Linked DNA regions of Homo sapiens: region 1 is linked to region 2. The links are contacts of gene promoters, found by promoter capture Hi-C in blood cells and fetal thymus (Javierre and others, 2016). All regions are on one chromosome and are shown on one strand. The core of a region is centred on a gene start or on the middle of the fragment in contact, and the rest is flanking DNA. Distances in the headings are between cores, read along the strand shown.

What was found. The method cuts DNA at HindIII sites, captures the fragments that hold promoters and counts their contacts. A CHiCAGO score of 5 or more calls a contact.
Region 1: a contact is called between a fragment that was not itself captured here and the fragment with the promoter of CC2D1A in region 2, in 4 of 17 cell types (naive CD8 T cells, monocytes, total CD8 T cells and 1 more). The highest score is 6.2, in naive CD8 T cells.

Annotation. Positions count from the first base shown.
Region 1 is chr19:14,330,773-14,338,020 of GRCh38, forward strand. The region is part of intron 1 of LINC01841 (long intergenic non-protein coding RNA 1841); the gene reads right to left. It overlaps LINC01842 (long intergenic non-protein coding RNA 1842), which reads left to right and starts at 2,971. Exons shown (of 2, transcript NR_134916.1): 1 at 2,971-3,247. RefSeq lists an enhancer at 2,993-3,668 and a silencer at 6,811-7,011. The HindIII fragment of the contact is 1,054 bases long and covers 5,003-6,056 here.
Region 2 is chr19:13,900,925-13,908,320 of GRCh38, forward strand. CC2D1A (coiled-coil and C2 domain containing 1A) reads left to right here and starts at 5,277. Exons shown (of 29, transcript NM_017721.5): 1 at 5,277-5,577. The coding sequence starts at 5,518. BRME1 (break repair meiotic recombinase recruitment factor 1) reads right to left here and starts at 5,193. Exons shown (of 9, transcript NM_001345843.2): 1 at 4,791-5,193; 2 at 3,938-3,989. The coding sequence starts at 3,968. RefSeq lists a silencer at 5,592-5,651. The HindIII fragment of the contact is 3,878 bases long and covers 2,120-5,997 here.

The DNA.
Region 1 (7,248 bases), core at 4,280-6,779, 430 kb after region 2:
AAAAAAAAAAAAAAAAAAAGGCCAGGTGCGGTGGCTCATGCCTGTAATCCCAGCACTTTGGGAGACCGAGGCGGGCAGATCACGAGGTCAAAAGAGCAAGACCATCCTGGCCAAGATGGTGAAACCCTGTCTCTACTAAAAATACAAAAAATTAGCCGGGCGTGGTGGCGCATGTCTGTAATCCCAGCTACTCGGGAGGCTGAGGCAGAATAGCTTGCTCATCTGCTGCTGGTTTGCATGTGAAATGGCACAACCACTTTGGAAAACAATTTTTATTTTTATTTATTTATTTTTAAGACGGAATCTTGCTCTGTTGCCCAGGCTGGAGTGCAGTAGCACAATATCCGCTCACTGCCACCTCCGCTTCCCAGGTTCAAGCGATTCTCTTGCCTCAGCCTCTGGAGTAGCTGGGACTACAGGCACGAACCACCACGCCCAGCTAATTTTTTGTATTTTTAGCAGAGACGGGGTTTCACCATGTTAGCCAAGATGGTCTAGATCTCCTGACCTCATGATCTGCCTGCCTCAGCCTCCCAAAGTGCTGGGATTACAGGCGTGAGCCACCGCGCCTAGCCGGGAAACAGTTTTTAAAATAAAGTTACATTGGGAGGCCAAGGCAGGCAGATTGCCTGAGGTCAGGAGTTCGAGACCAATCTGGCCAACATGGTGAAACCTCGTCTCTACTAAATATACAAAAGAAATTAGCCGGGTGTGGTGGTGGGCACCTGTAATTCCAGCTACTCATGAGGCTGAGGCAGGGGAATCGCTTGAACCAGGGAAGTGGGGGTTGCAGTGAGCCAAGATCATGCCACTGCAGGCCAGCCTGGGTGACAGAGTGAGACTCCATCTCAAAAAATATATAAAATAATTAATTTTAAAAAATAAAGTTAGACTTACCATTCATCCCAGCAATTCCATTGCTATACATTTACCCAAGAGAAAAGAAAGAATATATCCATATAAAGACTTGTTGGCAAATGTTCATAGCAGATTTGTTCAATTATTGCTGAAAAACTGGAAACAATCAAAATATCTACAGACAGGAGAATATAAATTAAGGCCCATCCATAGGATGTAGTAATTCTTAGCAACAAAAAGGAACAAACTACTGATTCACACAATGTTGATAAATCTCAGAATGCATGATGCTGAGTGGAAGAGAGACCACACTGTGTGATTTTATTTATCTGAAATTTTGCAAAAGGCTCAACTAATCTAAGGTGATAGAAATCAGAATAGTAGCCAGGTGCAGTGACTCACGCCTATAATCCCAGCACTTTGGGAGGCCGAGGTGGGCAGATCACTTGAGGCCAGGACTTTAAGACCAGCTTGGCCAACATGTCAAAACCCCATCTTTACAAAAAATACAAAAATCAGCGGGGTGTGGTGGCGTGTGCCTGTAATTTCAGCTACTTTGGAGACTGAGACATGAGAATCGCTTGACCCTGGGAAGTGGAGGGTGCAGTGAGCTGAGATCGTGCCACTGCACTCCAGCCTGGGCAACAGAGTGAAACTGTCACACACACAAAAAGAATTCAGGATAGTGGGCCCCACCCTATGGCTCACACCTGTAATCTCAGCACTTTGGGAGGCTGAGACAGGAGGATCGCTTGAGGCCAGGAATTCAACATCAGCCTGGATAACAGCAAGACCCTGTCTGTCTCTACAAAAAATACAAAAATTAGCTGGGCTTGGTGGTGAGGGCCTGTAGTTCCAGCTACTCAGAGGCTGAGACAGGAGAATTGCTTGAGCCTAGGAGGTAGAGGCTTCGGTGAGCTATGGTTGCACCACTGCACTCCAGCCTGGGCAACAGAGCAAGACCCTGTTTCTAAAAAGAAAAGAAAAGAGGCCGGGCACGGTGGCTCACGCCTGTAATCCCAGCACTTTGGGAGGCCGAGGCAGGCGGATCACGAGGTCAGGAGATCGAGACCATCCTGGCTAACATGATGAAACCCCGTCTCTACTAAATAATACAAAAAACAATTAGCCGGACGTGGTGGCCGGCGCCTGTAGTCCCAGCTTGTCGGGAGGCTGAGGCAGAAGAATGGCGTGAACCTGGGAGGCAGAGCTTGCAGTGAGCCGAGATCGCACCACTACACTCCAGCCTGGCTGACAGAGCGAGACTCTGTCTCAAAAAACAAAAAACAAAAAAAAAAAGAAAAGAAAAGAAAAATCAGGCCGGGCCTGGTGGCTCACACCTGTAATCCCAGTGCTTTGGGAGGCCGAGGCGGGCGGATCATCTAAGGTTGGGAGTTTGAGACCAGCCTGACCAGCATGGTGAAACCCCATCTGTACTAAAAATACAAAAATTAGCTGGGCATGGTGGTGCATGCCTGTAATCCCAACTACTCAGGAGGCTGAGGCAGGAGAATCGCTAGAACCCGGGAGGCAGAGGTTGCGGTGAGCCCAGATCGTGCCATTGCACTCCAGCCTGGGCAACAAGAGCAAAACTCCATCTCAAAAAAAAAAAAAAAAAAAAAAAAAAATCAGTGGAGTGGCTGTGGGTGGGGAATGGATGAAGGGACATTGATTTCTGGGCCGTCTGAATGGAAGTGTTCCTTACTTTGATGGGGTGGGGACACGGGGTCGTGCATGCAAATAATATGTGCAGGCTTGGGACTTCACCGCATGTAAATTAACTCTCAATAAAGTTCCAGGAAAAGTAATTCCAATTCCAGCAACCGGATTTTGGGCTCAGTTCGGAGGCTAGCCTGCAAGCCTTGCTGGTGGGTGGCCTGTAGGGGTGACAGGAAACCCCCCGGGCCTCCGCTCTTTAGGGGAGGGGGAGCCTCGCCCTTGCCCCCCTCCGGGACGAGCGGGCAGATCTAAAAGCTTCCCTACCGCCGCCCAGGCGGTCGATAGCAGACTCCCAGGCTCCGTTTCTGCCTGCCCGGCAGCCCGGGCCCTTCCCGCCAGCCCAGCCCCTGGGAGGGGACCCGAGCCGGGCGGAGCCTCCTCCGGAGCCGCACGCCGGGCTCGGCTCACCCTCCCCGGATGCCGCTCCTCCTCCATCCCCAGAAGTTTCAGCCACTGAGATTCCCCTTGTCCCGGAGGCTGGAGGGGAAGACCCAGGCGGCTGCGCTTTGGAGGCTGGACCATCGTGGGGCTTGTCTGTGCCCACTTTTCCCCCATTCAAGAGTTACCACTGCCAGGCGCAGTTGCTCAGGCCTGCAAACCCAGCACTTTGGGATGGCAAGACAGGAGGATCGCTTGAGCCCAGGAGCTTGAGAACAGCCTGGACAACATGGTAAGACCGCATCACTATATTAAAAAAAAAAAAAAAAAAAAAAAAAAAAAAAAAAGGCTGGGCGCGGTGGCTCACGCCTGTAATCCCAGCACTTTGGGAGGCCAAGACCGGCAGATCACAAGGTCAGGAGATTGAGACCATCCTGGCTAACACGGTGAAAACCCGTCTCTACTAAAAATACAAAAAATTAGCCAGGCGTGGTGGCGGGCGCCTGTAGTCCCAGCTACTCAGGAGGCTGAGGCAGGAGAATGGCGTCAACCCAGGAGGCGGAGCTTGCAGTGAGCCGAGATCGCGCCACTGCACTCCAACCTGGGCGACAGAGCAAGACTCCGTCTCAAAAAAAAAAAAAAAAAAAAAAAAAGAGGCTAGGTGCGGTGACTCACGCCTGTAACCCCAGGAGTTTGTGACCAGCCCGGCCAACATGGTGAAACCCCGTCTCTACTAAACACACACACACACACACACACACACACACACACACTCTTAGCCGGGTGTGGTGGCGGGCGCCTGTAATCCCAGCCACTCGGGAGGCTGAGGCAGGAGAATTGCTTGAACCTGGGAGGCGGAGCTTGCAGTGAGCCAAGATCGTGCCATTGCACTCCAGCCTGGGCTACAAAAGCGAAACTCCGTCTCAAAAAAAAAAAAAAAAAAAAAAAATTCAAGCCTAGTGGATTGGAAATACCACTTTCCCTGTCTTCCTTCATCCTTTCCTTAGTCACTATCTAGACACCCTTTTTACTGGGAGTCTGGGTTACAGGGTTACATTAACCAGAACCTTAAAGAGAAAAATACTGTAATTGCAAAAACGACCAGCCTTTTAAAATGGAACAAAAGAGACTAGAAAATATCAGAACCCACTGCACAGTAGAAATATGACTATGACTTCCTGAAACTTTTGTTTTAGTTCCAAACCTGGGTAGAAGGCCTACGTTGCAATGTAAAAAATTAATTCTTTGATTTGTGATCAAAGTGCTTGAAAGATGTGGTTATATATGATGTTTGAAATTGGTTTTCTTTTTTTTTTAATTAATATATCACAGAGGTCACGCTGTGTCAATGAATATAAGTTTTAGCACTTGAATTTTCTTTTCTTTTTTTTGAGACTGAGCCACCTTATCACCCAGGCTGGAGTGCAGTGGCGAGATCTCGGCTCACTGCAACTTTCACCTCCTGGGTTCAAGCGATTCTCCTGCCTCACCTCCCAAGTAGCTGGGATTACAGGCACCCACCAACACATCCAGCTAATTTTTGTATTATTAGTAGAGACAGGGTTTCACCAAGTTGGCCAGGCTGGTCTCGAACTCGTGACCTCAAGTGATCCGCCCACCTCAGCCTCCCAAAGTGCTGAGATTACAGGTGTCAGCCACCACACCCAGCTTTTAATTTCCTTTTCTTTGTTGAGACAGGTTCTCATTCTGTCACCCAGGTTGGAGTGCAGTGGTGCGATATGCGCTCACTGCAGCCTCCACCTCCTTGGGCTCAAGCAATCCTCCCCCCTCAGCCTCCCAAGTAGCTGGAAGTACAGACATGTGCCACCATGCCTGGCTAATTTTTTAGTTTTTGTAGAGTTGGGATCTGGCTATGTTGCCCAGGCTAGTCTTGAACTCCTGGGCTCAGGCGATCCTCCCACCTGGGCCTCCCAAAGTGCTGGGATTACAGGCATGAGCCACCATGCCCAGCCCACTTTCATTTTCTACTATGCATGTAGCCAATCCCCAGAGCCCAGGTACCTCCATTGTTTCCAGCCTCTTTTAAAGCTTTTCTTAATGATGGTAACAGCAAGCATCCTCTATGTGCCTGGCAGAAGGCTAAGCATTTCACACACTTTGCCTCATGGAGTCCTCATGAGAGGCCCATTTTACTGATGAGAAAATCTGGGAACCGTAACAATAAACCATATGACTTAGGTCACACAGCTTGAAGGTGGTGAAGCCAGAATTCGAACCCTGGCTGTCTGATTCCAGAGCTCTTAACCACCCTGTGTTAGTTATTCTTTTCTTTTCTTTTCTTTTTTTGAGACGAAGTCTTGCTCTTGTCCCCCAGGCTGGAGTGCAATGGTACAATATCGGCTCACTGCAACCTCTGCCTCCCAGGTTCAAGCAATTCTCCTGCCTCAGCCTCCCGAGTAGCTGGGATTACAGGCGCCTGCCACCACGCCCGGCTGATTTTTGTATTTTTAGTAGAGACGGCGTTTCACCATGTTGGCCAACCTGGTCTCGAACTCCTGACCTCAGGTGATCTGCCCGCCTCAGCCTCCCAAAGTGCTGGGATTACAGGCGTGAGCCACCGTGCCCAGCCTATTCTTTATAGTTCTCCACCTATTTGACTGATTATATCCCTGACATAAATTCCTAGAGGTGGATTTGCTGGGTCAGAGAATCCACATGCTTAAAGGTTTAATACTAATATCTAGAACACCATCCCAAGAAAGTTGTATCGTGGCCGGGTGCGGTGGCTGACATCTGTAATCCTAGCACTTTGGGTGGCCGAGGAGGGAGGATCACTTGAGATCAGGAGTTTGAGACCAGCCTGGGCAAGTCGTGAGACCCCATGTTACAAAAAGTTTTTAAAAAATTAGCTGGGTGTGGTGACCTGTACCTGTAGTCAGCTATTTGGCAGGCTGAGGTGGGAGGATTCCTTAAGCCTAGGAGGTTGAGGCTGCAGTGAGCCGTGATTGTGCCACTGCACTCCAGCATGGGTGACATAGTGAGACCCTGTCTCAAAAAATTAAAAAAAAAAAAGTTGTGTCAATTTAAACTCCCATGACCGTGCTCAAGTGTGCATTCCCAAAACTTCACACACACTCATAAGCTTGACAAGGAAAAGTGATTCTTCAGCTGAACGGTCAGATTGAGCATCTTTACAGAGGTTTGTTAAGCTCTCACTCCTTTGTGAACCCCCTATTCAAGCCCTGTGCCAATTTCACATTTGGGATGTTTGTCTTTTTTTTCTTATTGATTCATATGTGCTTTTTGTATATTAAGGCTCTTAATGATTTGTCTGCCATATACGTGGCAAACAATCTAATCTCCCTTGATCTTTTCTTTTCCTTTTTTTTCTTGAGATAGAGCCTCACTCCGTTGCCCAGGCTGGAATGCAGTGGCACCATAATAGCTCACCGCAATCACTGCAGCATCAACCTCCTGGGCTCAAGCCATCCTCCTGCCTCAGCCTCCTGAGTAGCTGGGACCACAGGTGTGTGCCACCATGCCCAGATAAATTTTTAAAAATTATTTTTGTAGGGATGGGGTCTCACTATGTTGCCCAGGCTGGCTATCTCCTCTGATCTGGGACTCCAGCTAGATCTCCTTTTATTGCCCAACTGGCCTCAATGAACATTTCTCTTCTGTCTAGGCCTCATTGCAGGTTGCATTTTATTGGCGGTTCCTCCAGAAACAAAAGCAGAGACTTTGAGATCTTATGAACCTCAGTCTTACCCAGAACACTTGAAGAACCCTTCAGCTTTCCATGGCAAGAAAGCTCAGGCCCTGGGGCCAGAAGCCACGGCTTTGTGTCTGGGTTCTGTAGTTTACTGCTATGGCTCCAGTTTCTGATTCCTCCAAGTTAAGATGGGTTGGTAAATTCTGCCACGCAGAATGCGCTTCTAGCCACGCCCACTGTGTATCAAACCATGCCCACTGTACATAAACCACGCCCTCTCATCTAGCTACGCCCACCAATCGTCTAGCCACGCCCACCTTCGAGTGGAGAGGTGTGATTAGAGCATTAAAGAGAGAGGCGTGATTAGAGCATTAAAAAGAAGTGAAGAACCGAAATAGTGAGGATCCTGGGCCAGGGGGAGGAGGAGGGAGAAGATCCCCTGGCCTCGATGGCTGGCAATTCCTTCATGCCCCTAGCACCCACCTGGTTAAAGAAAGGATAGCTGGGCGCAATGACTCACTCCTGTAATCCCAGCACTTTGGGAGGCCGAGGCAGGCAAATCTTGAACTTGAGGCCAGGAGTTCAAGACCAGCCTGATCAACATGGCAAAACCCCATCTC
Region 2 (7,396 bases), core at 4,027-6,526:
TCGGCCTCCCAAAGTGCTCAGATTACAGGCATGAGCCATCGTGCCCAACAATCTTTCTTTTTTTCTAAGAGACAGGGTTTTGTTCTGTGGCCCAGGCTGGAGTGCAGGCGCAATCATAGCTCACTGCAGCCTGGAACTCCTCAGCTCAAGCCATCCTCCTGCCTCAATCTCCCAAGTAGCCAGGACTACAGGTAGGCACCACCACACTGGTTAATTAAAATTTTTTTTTTTTTTTAGAGACTGGGTAACATTATGTTGCTCAGGCTGGTCATGAACTCCTGGTCTCAGGCAATCCTTTCACCTCGGCCTCCCAAGTAGCCTGGAGTACAGGTGCGTACCACCAAGCCTGGCTATTTTGGGGTGTTTTTCTTTTCAAATGATGAAATTGTATAGGTATGTTGACAAGTAAACATGGTCATGATCTACCACAAAGTGAAAAATGGAGGTTGCAGATCAGTAAGTGTGATGATTCGATTTTCCAATAAAAACATTTTATCTGGGCCAGGCACGGTGGCTCATGCCTGTAATCTTTGGGAGGCTGAGGCAGGCGGATAACTTGAAGTCAGGAGTTAGAGAGCAGCCTAGCCAACATGGTGAAACCCCGTCTCTACTAAAAATGCAAAAATTTGCCAGGCATGGTGGCAGGTACCTGTAATCCCAGCTACTCAGGAGGCTGAGGCATGAGCATCACTTGAACCCAGGAGGCAGAGGTTACAGTGAACCAAAATCGTGCCACTGCACTCCAGCCTGGGTGACAGAGTGAGACTGTCTCCAAAAAAAAAAAAAAGAAAAAAGCTCAACACTGTATCTGTATATATACAGAAAAAGTCTGACCAGGCATGGTGGCTCATGCCTGTAATTCTGAGCACATTGGGAGGCCAAGGCAGGTGGACTGCTGGAGCCCAGAAGTTCAAGACCAGCCTGGGCAACATAGTGAGGCCTCGTCTCTTCCAAAAAATACAAAAATTAGCCAGTCATGGTGGCACACACCTGTAGTCCCAGCTATTCCGGAGGCTGAGGTGGGAAGATCACCTGAGCCTGGGGAGGTCGAGGCTGCAGCGAGCTATGATTGTGCCACTGCTCTCCAGCCTGGGCGACAAAGCAAGACTCTGTCTCGAAAAAAAGAAAAAAAAAAAAGCTGGGTATGGTGGCTCACTCCAGTAATCCCAGCACTTTGGCTGAGGCGGGCAGATCATGTGAGGCCAGGAGTTCAAGATCAGCCTGGGCAACATGGTGAAACCCCATCTCTACTACAAATACAAAAATTATCTGAGCGTGGTGGCAGACACCTGTAATCCCAGCTACTCAGGAGGCTGATGCAAGAGAATCGCTTGAAACCAGGAGGCGGAGGCTGCAGTGAGTCAAGATCGTGCCACTGCACTCCAGTCTGGGCAACAGAGTGAGACATCATCTTAAAAAAAAGTCTGAGCTGGGCGCGCTGGCTCATGCCTGTAATCCCAGCACTTTGGGAGGCCGAGATGGGCGGATCACCTGAGGTTGGGAGTTCGAGACCAGCCTGACCAACATGGAGAAACCCCATCTCTACTAAAAATACAAAAAAATTAGCTGGGCATGGTGGCATATGCCTGTAATCTCAGTTACTTGGGAGGCTGAGGCAGGAGAATTGCTTGAATCTAGGAGGCAGAGGTTGCGGTGAGCCGAGATCGCGCCAGCCTGGGCAACAAGATCAAGACTCTGTCTCAAAAACAAAAACAAAAAAGTCTGGGCTGGGCGCGGTGGCCTACTCCTGTATCCCCAGCACTTTGGGACACCAAGACGGGCAGATCACCTGAGGTTGGGAGTTCAAGACCAGCCTGACCAAACCCTGACTCTACTAAAAAAATACAAAAATTAGCTCAGCATGGTGGTGGGTGCCTGTAATCCCAGCTACTTGGGAGGCTGAGGCAGGAGAATCGCCTGAACTTGGGAGGTGGAGGTTGCAGTAAGCCGAGATCGCGCCACTGCACTCCAGCCTGGGCAACAAGAGCGAAACTCCGTCTCAAAAAAAAAAAAAAAAGTCTAGAAGCAGTGTACCGAGGTTAGAGTCCTGTCCTGTTTTTCATGCTGTTCTACAGTTGATCACTGTCCTATGGCTATGCTAGATGTCAACATTAGGGAAAGCTTGGAGAAGGGTAGCTAGAACTCTCTGAATTATTTTTGCAACTTTTCTTTAAGTCCCAGATTACTTCAAAATAAAAGTTTTCTTAAAAGTCTGGAAGAAGAATTGTTAACAGCAGTGTACATTTGTGTACTACCTTAGGTCAGTTCTGGGTGCTTTACAGATACTAATCCACATGTGAGCTCTAAGGGCAGGATTCTTCACCTTGGAGGACATTTGGGGCTGGATCATTCTCTGTGGCTGGGGGGCATCCTATGCATGGTAGGATATTTGAGCAGCATCCCTGGCCTCCACCCACTAGATGTCAGTATAATTTCCCCAGTTATGAAAACCAAAAAAAGTCTCTAGGCCGGGCACGGTGGCTCCCACCTGTAATCCCAGCACTTTGGGAGGCTGAGGCAGGCAGATCACCTGAGGTCAGGAGTTTGAGACCAGCCTGGCCAACATTGTGAAACCCTATCCCTACTAAAAATACAAAAATTAGGCGGGCGTGGTGGTGCACATCTGTAGTCCCAGCTACTTAGGAGGCTGAGGCTGCAGAATCGCTTGAACCCAGGAGGTGGAGGCTGCAGTGAGCCAAGATCTTGCTACTGCACTCCAGCCTGGACGACAGAGTCAGACTTGGTCTCCAAAAAAAAAAAAAATAAAGTCTCCAAACATTGCCAGCTGTCTCTGGAGGTCAAAATCCCTTCCTCTCACCTAGTTGAGAAACACTGCTCTAAAGGAAAGGGTAGTGGCTTTTATTATCCCCAATTTACAAAAGGGGAAACTGTGGCACAGAGGAAATCATCCACCACCACACACTGAGCAGAACTGGGATGAACCCAGGTTTTGGGCCCCAGAGTAAAACACTCAGCCACATACCGAGTGGCCTTGTAGTACATCAAGCATTATTCCAGGGGTCATCTCTGGGACTGGTTCCGCAGGGAGGCTGTCCCGCTGCCCTGAAGCCCGGGGAGGCCTCCTCTAAGCTGTGGGACCCCACCAGAGGCTTGCAGAAGCTCCAGAAAACTTTCACTTTTACTTTTCCTGTATGCCCTCTCCGTTATTTCTATTTTTCTTTCTTTCTTTTTTTTTTTGAGACAGGGCCTCAATCTATCAGTCAGGATGGAGTGCAGTGGTACGATCTGGATTCACTGCAACCTCCACCTCCCAGTTCAAGCAATCTTCCTGCCTCAACCTCCTGAGTAGCTGGGACTACAGGTGCCTGCCACCACGCCCAGCTAATTTCCTTACTTTACATTGTAGAGACAGGATCTCGCTATGTTGCCCAGGCTGGTCTTGAACTCCTGGACTCAAGCGATCCGCCCACCTCGGCCTCCCAAAGTGCTAGGATTACAGGCGTGAGCCACCACACCGGCCTTCTATTTTTCTTACCAGCATGAATTAAATCCTTTTTGTCTTTTTCTTTTTTTTGAGACAGAGTCTTGCTCTGTTGCCCAGGCTAGAGTGCAGTGGCACCATCTTGGCTCACTGCAACATCGGACTCCCAGGTTCAAACGATTCTCCTGCCTCAGTCTCCCGAGTAGGTGGGACTACAGGCATGTGCCACAACACCTGGCTAATTTTTGTATTTTTAGTAGAGACGGGGTTTCACCATGTTGGTCAGGCTGGTCTTGAACTCCTGACCTTGTGATCTGCCCGCCTCGGCCTCCCAAAGTGCTGAGATTACAGGTGTGAGCCACCGCACCCGGCCAATCCTTGCTTCCTTTTAAGGAGGTTAAGGCAGTCGTGTTAGCCAGATCTGCAATAAACAAGCCCACATTCTTCCCACAAGCAGAAGCAGAAATCAACAAGTGTCCATTTGAATGAACGTACCTGAGGTCCGCAGCTTCTTCCTCTTAGTCATTTTATCTTCCCCTTGAGAAATCTGAAAACAAGCAAAATCTCTCATCATTATAAGCAGTCTCTGTCTCTGTTTATATCCAGTGGCTTTGGCTGAGAGCAGAGGTTACCCCTACCTCCACCTCAGCCCATTTGGCTGCCCCAGGGGTCAGATGGCTCCCACTGGGACACAGGATGGGACACAGAGTCACAGCCACTTTGGGCCATGGCCAGGTAGGAATTCAAACCTCCTCCAAACTGAAGATCTTATGCCCAGGACCTGAAAGACAAATGGGCCCTGGGGGGTCCTTATAGATAGCCCCGGGGACCCAGACTCTGGTCCCTAGGATGAAACAGCCTGTGTGAAGCCCCTCCCTCCAGACTGGGGTATCTGGGGGCCCTTCCAAGGACACTTGAGGACTCTCCAGGGGCCTCTGGAGACCAGCCTGGCCAATATGGTGAAACCCCCTCTCTATTAAAAACACAAAAATTAGCCTGGGCATCGTGACGCACACCTGTAATCCCAGCTACTTGGGAGGCTGAGACAGTAGAATTCCTTGAACCCATGAGGCAGAGGTTGCAGTGAGCCGAGATCGCTCTACTGCACTCCAGCCTGGGCGACAGAGCGAGACTCCGTCTCAAAAAAAAAAAAAAAAATTAGTCAGGTGCGGTGGCACACACCCGTAATCCCAGCTACTCAGGAGGCTGTGGTACAAGGCCAGGAGGCAGAGGTTGCAATGAGCCAAGATCGTGCCACTTTAAAGGGGACAGCTGGGTCCTTGGAGGGGAAAGAGCTGCCATAGGCCGGTTTCTCCCAGCCTTGGGGGCGAGGCAAACCAGAACGGACCTGGGCCACAGAAGTCGTTGAGGACCCTCTGTCCTTATCAGAAACGAGCTCTGCCTGGATCAGTTGGGAATAAGTCGCTTGAATTATCCGCGTTACTCTTTTTGGAAAAAATAAATGGCCAAATTGGCCCTCACAGAACGCTGGAGGCCTCGAGTCCGGAGGTGAAAGATGGAAAGGCCTGAGGGTGGGCGCTGTAGACCCCGCTCCCGGTGACAAGCCCCACACTGACACTACGCCGACCACCGAGAAGTGAGGACTCCACAGGCCGAGAGCCCACGTGAAGCCGGAGCCCGTCGGTGACTGACAGACGCTCTGAACCCCACAGATGTCGCCGCCCCTCACACCTGCGCGCGCTCTGCCTCTTTCCCGCGCCCCGCGAGGTCCCGCCCCGCGCATGAGCGACGCAAACACCGCCCTCGCAGCCCGCGACAGTCAGCACCGCCCCAGCCAGGCGCCTGCGCGCCCACGCACTACCTGCCGGGAGTTGTAGTTTCGGCTCGGCAGACCCGGCGAGCCCAGTGGCCGCGCTCCGGTGCGGCGGCGCCCGAGGCCCGAGGCGGAAGTGGGACGGCCAAGCAGGGAAGCGAGGGCTCGGGATCGACGGCCGCGGGGCGCCGACGAGGAGTGCAGGACTCAGGAAGGGCGAGTGCGCGGCGACAGAGCCCGGGGAAGGAGGCAGGGCAAGGCCGGGCTTGGGGGCAGGTGGTCCGGGCATCCAGCCTTGAAGATGCACAAGAGGAAAGGACCCCCGGGACCCCCGGGCAGAGGCGCCGCGGCCGCCCGCCAGGTGAGTTTGCGCCCCACGGCCCGACCTGGGGATCCCTCCCCACCCCCGTCACTCGCTCAGGGAAGGGCCCCACCCCCCAGGGAAGCCCGATCTCCGCCCCACAGGTAAGCCCCGGTCCCCGCCTCCCCCCAGGTGAGGCTCCAACACCACCCAAGTGTGGCCTACTGGCCTTGGCTCCCCAGCTCCTGGGGCCCTGCCCCGGGTTCGGGGCCACCTGTTGCCACAGCTGCTCCAGTCGAGGAGGGGCAGTCCTCGGACTTGACACATCAAACCCTTGCATCAGTCGGGCCATGTCAGACTCTTTTTATTCCATTGTACAGATGAGGACTTTGAGACTCAGAGACGTGAAGACATCTGCCCAAGGTCATAGGGATTAACAGCTTGGCCAGGGCTAAGCACAAATCCAGGGCTGCAGCCATAAGCTTATGGCACTGTGGCTGGACCCCTTCTCACTCTCCCGACTTCTTTGCCCCAGGCACCAGATAGTTTGATTTTTCTCAGTTTTGATGGAAGGAGCCCAGGACATAGCTTGGTGTTCAGATATTAGAGTCTGGCTGACCTGAAGTTCCCTCCTGGCCTCTGTACATCGGACACTTGACTTTACAGCTCTGAGCCTCAGCTTTCTCATCTGTAAAATGGAGATCTCTATAATCCCAGCACTTCAGGAGATGGAGGCGGAGGCAGAGGTGGGAGAGTCATTTGAGGCCAGAGTTTGAGACCAGCCTGGGCAAAAGCAAGACCCCCGTCTCGACAAAAAAAGACTAACTGGGCATGGTGGCATGTGCCTGTAGTACTACTACTTGGGAGGCTAAGAAGGGAGGATTGCTTGAGCCCAGGAGTTCAAGACCGCAGTGAGCTATGATTGCGCTACTTCTGCTCCAGCCTGGGTGACAGAACAAGACTCTTTCTCTAAAATAAAGATAAAAAATTAAAAATGGAAGTCCGGGGTGGTGTCTCACACCTGTAATCCCAGCACTTTGGGAGGCCATGGCGAAACCCCATCTCTACTAAAAATACAAAAATTAGCTGGGCATGGTGGCGGGCACCTGTAATCCCAGCTACTCGGGAGGCTGAGGTGGGAGAATCGCTTGAACCGAGAGGCGGAGGTTGCAGTGAGCTGAGATCGCGCCACTGCATTCCAGACTGGGTGACAGAGCAAGGCTCCTTCTCAAAATAAATAAATAAATTCCTTCTGAAAATAAATAAATAAATAAAAAATTAAAAATGGAGACCTCCAAGAGACCCTACATTACAGGACAGTTGTAGAGAGTCATTGAGATAGTTTATGGAAAGTGCTAGAACATAGCACTCAATAAATGTTACTATTATCATTATTACTAGTTGGTGGAACCATACATAATTGCCAATATTTGGCCATTTTTTACCTACAGGAAAGGCAATTTCATATGGTTAAACACGATGTTATCACATCATGATTGGTCATTAGCCAAGATAGGAAGACGGGTCTGCATGGCAAACCTGCATTGTGGTTAGGGGTTCTTTTTTTGTTTGTTTGTTTTTGAGACAGAGTCTTGCTCTCTCGCCCCAGGCTGGAGTGCAGTGGCGCAATCTCGGCCCACTGCAACCTCCGCTTCCCGGGTTCAAGCGATTCTCCTGCCTCAGCCTCCCGAGTAGCTGGGATTACAGGCATGCGCCACCATGCCTGGTTAATTTTGTATTTTTTAGTAGAGACGGGGTTTCTCCCTGTTGGTCAGGCTGGTCTGTCTCGAACTCCCCATCTCAGGTGACCCGCCTGCCTCGGCCTCCCAAAGTGCTGGGGTTACAGGCGTGAGCCACCGTGCCCGGCCTAATTTTTGTA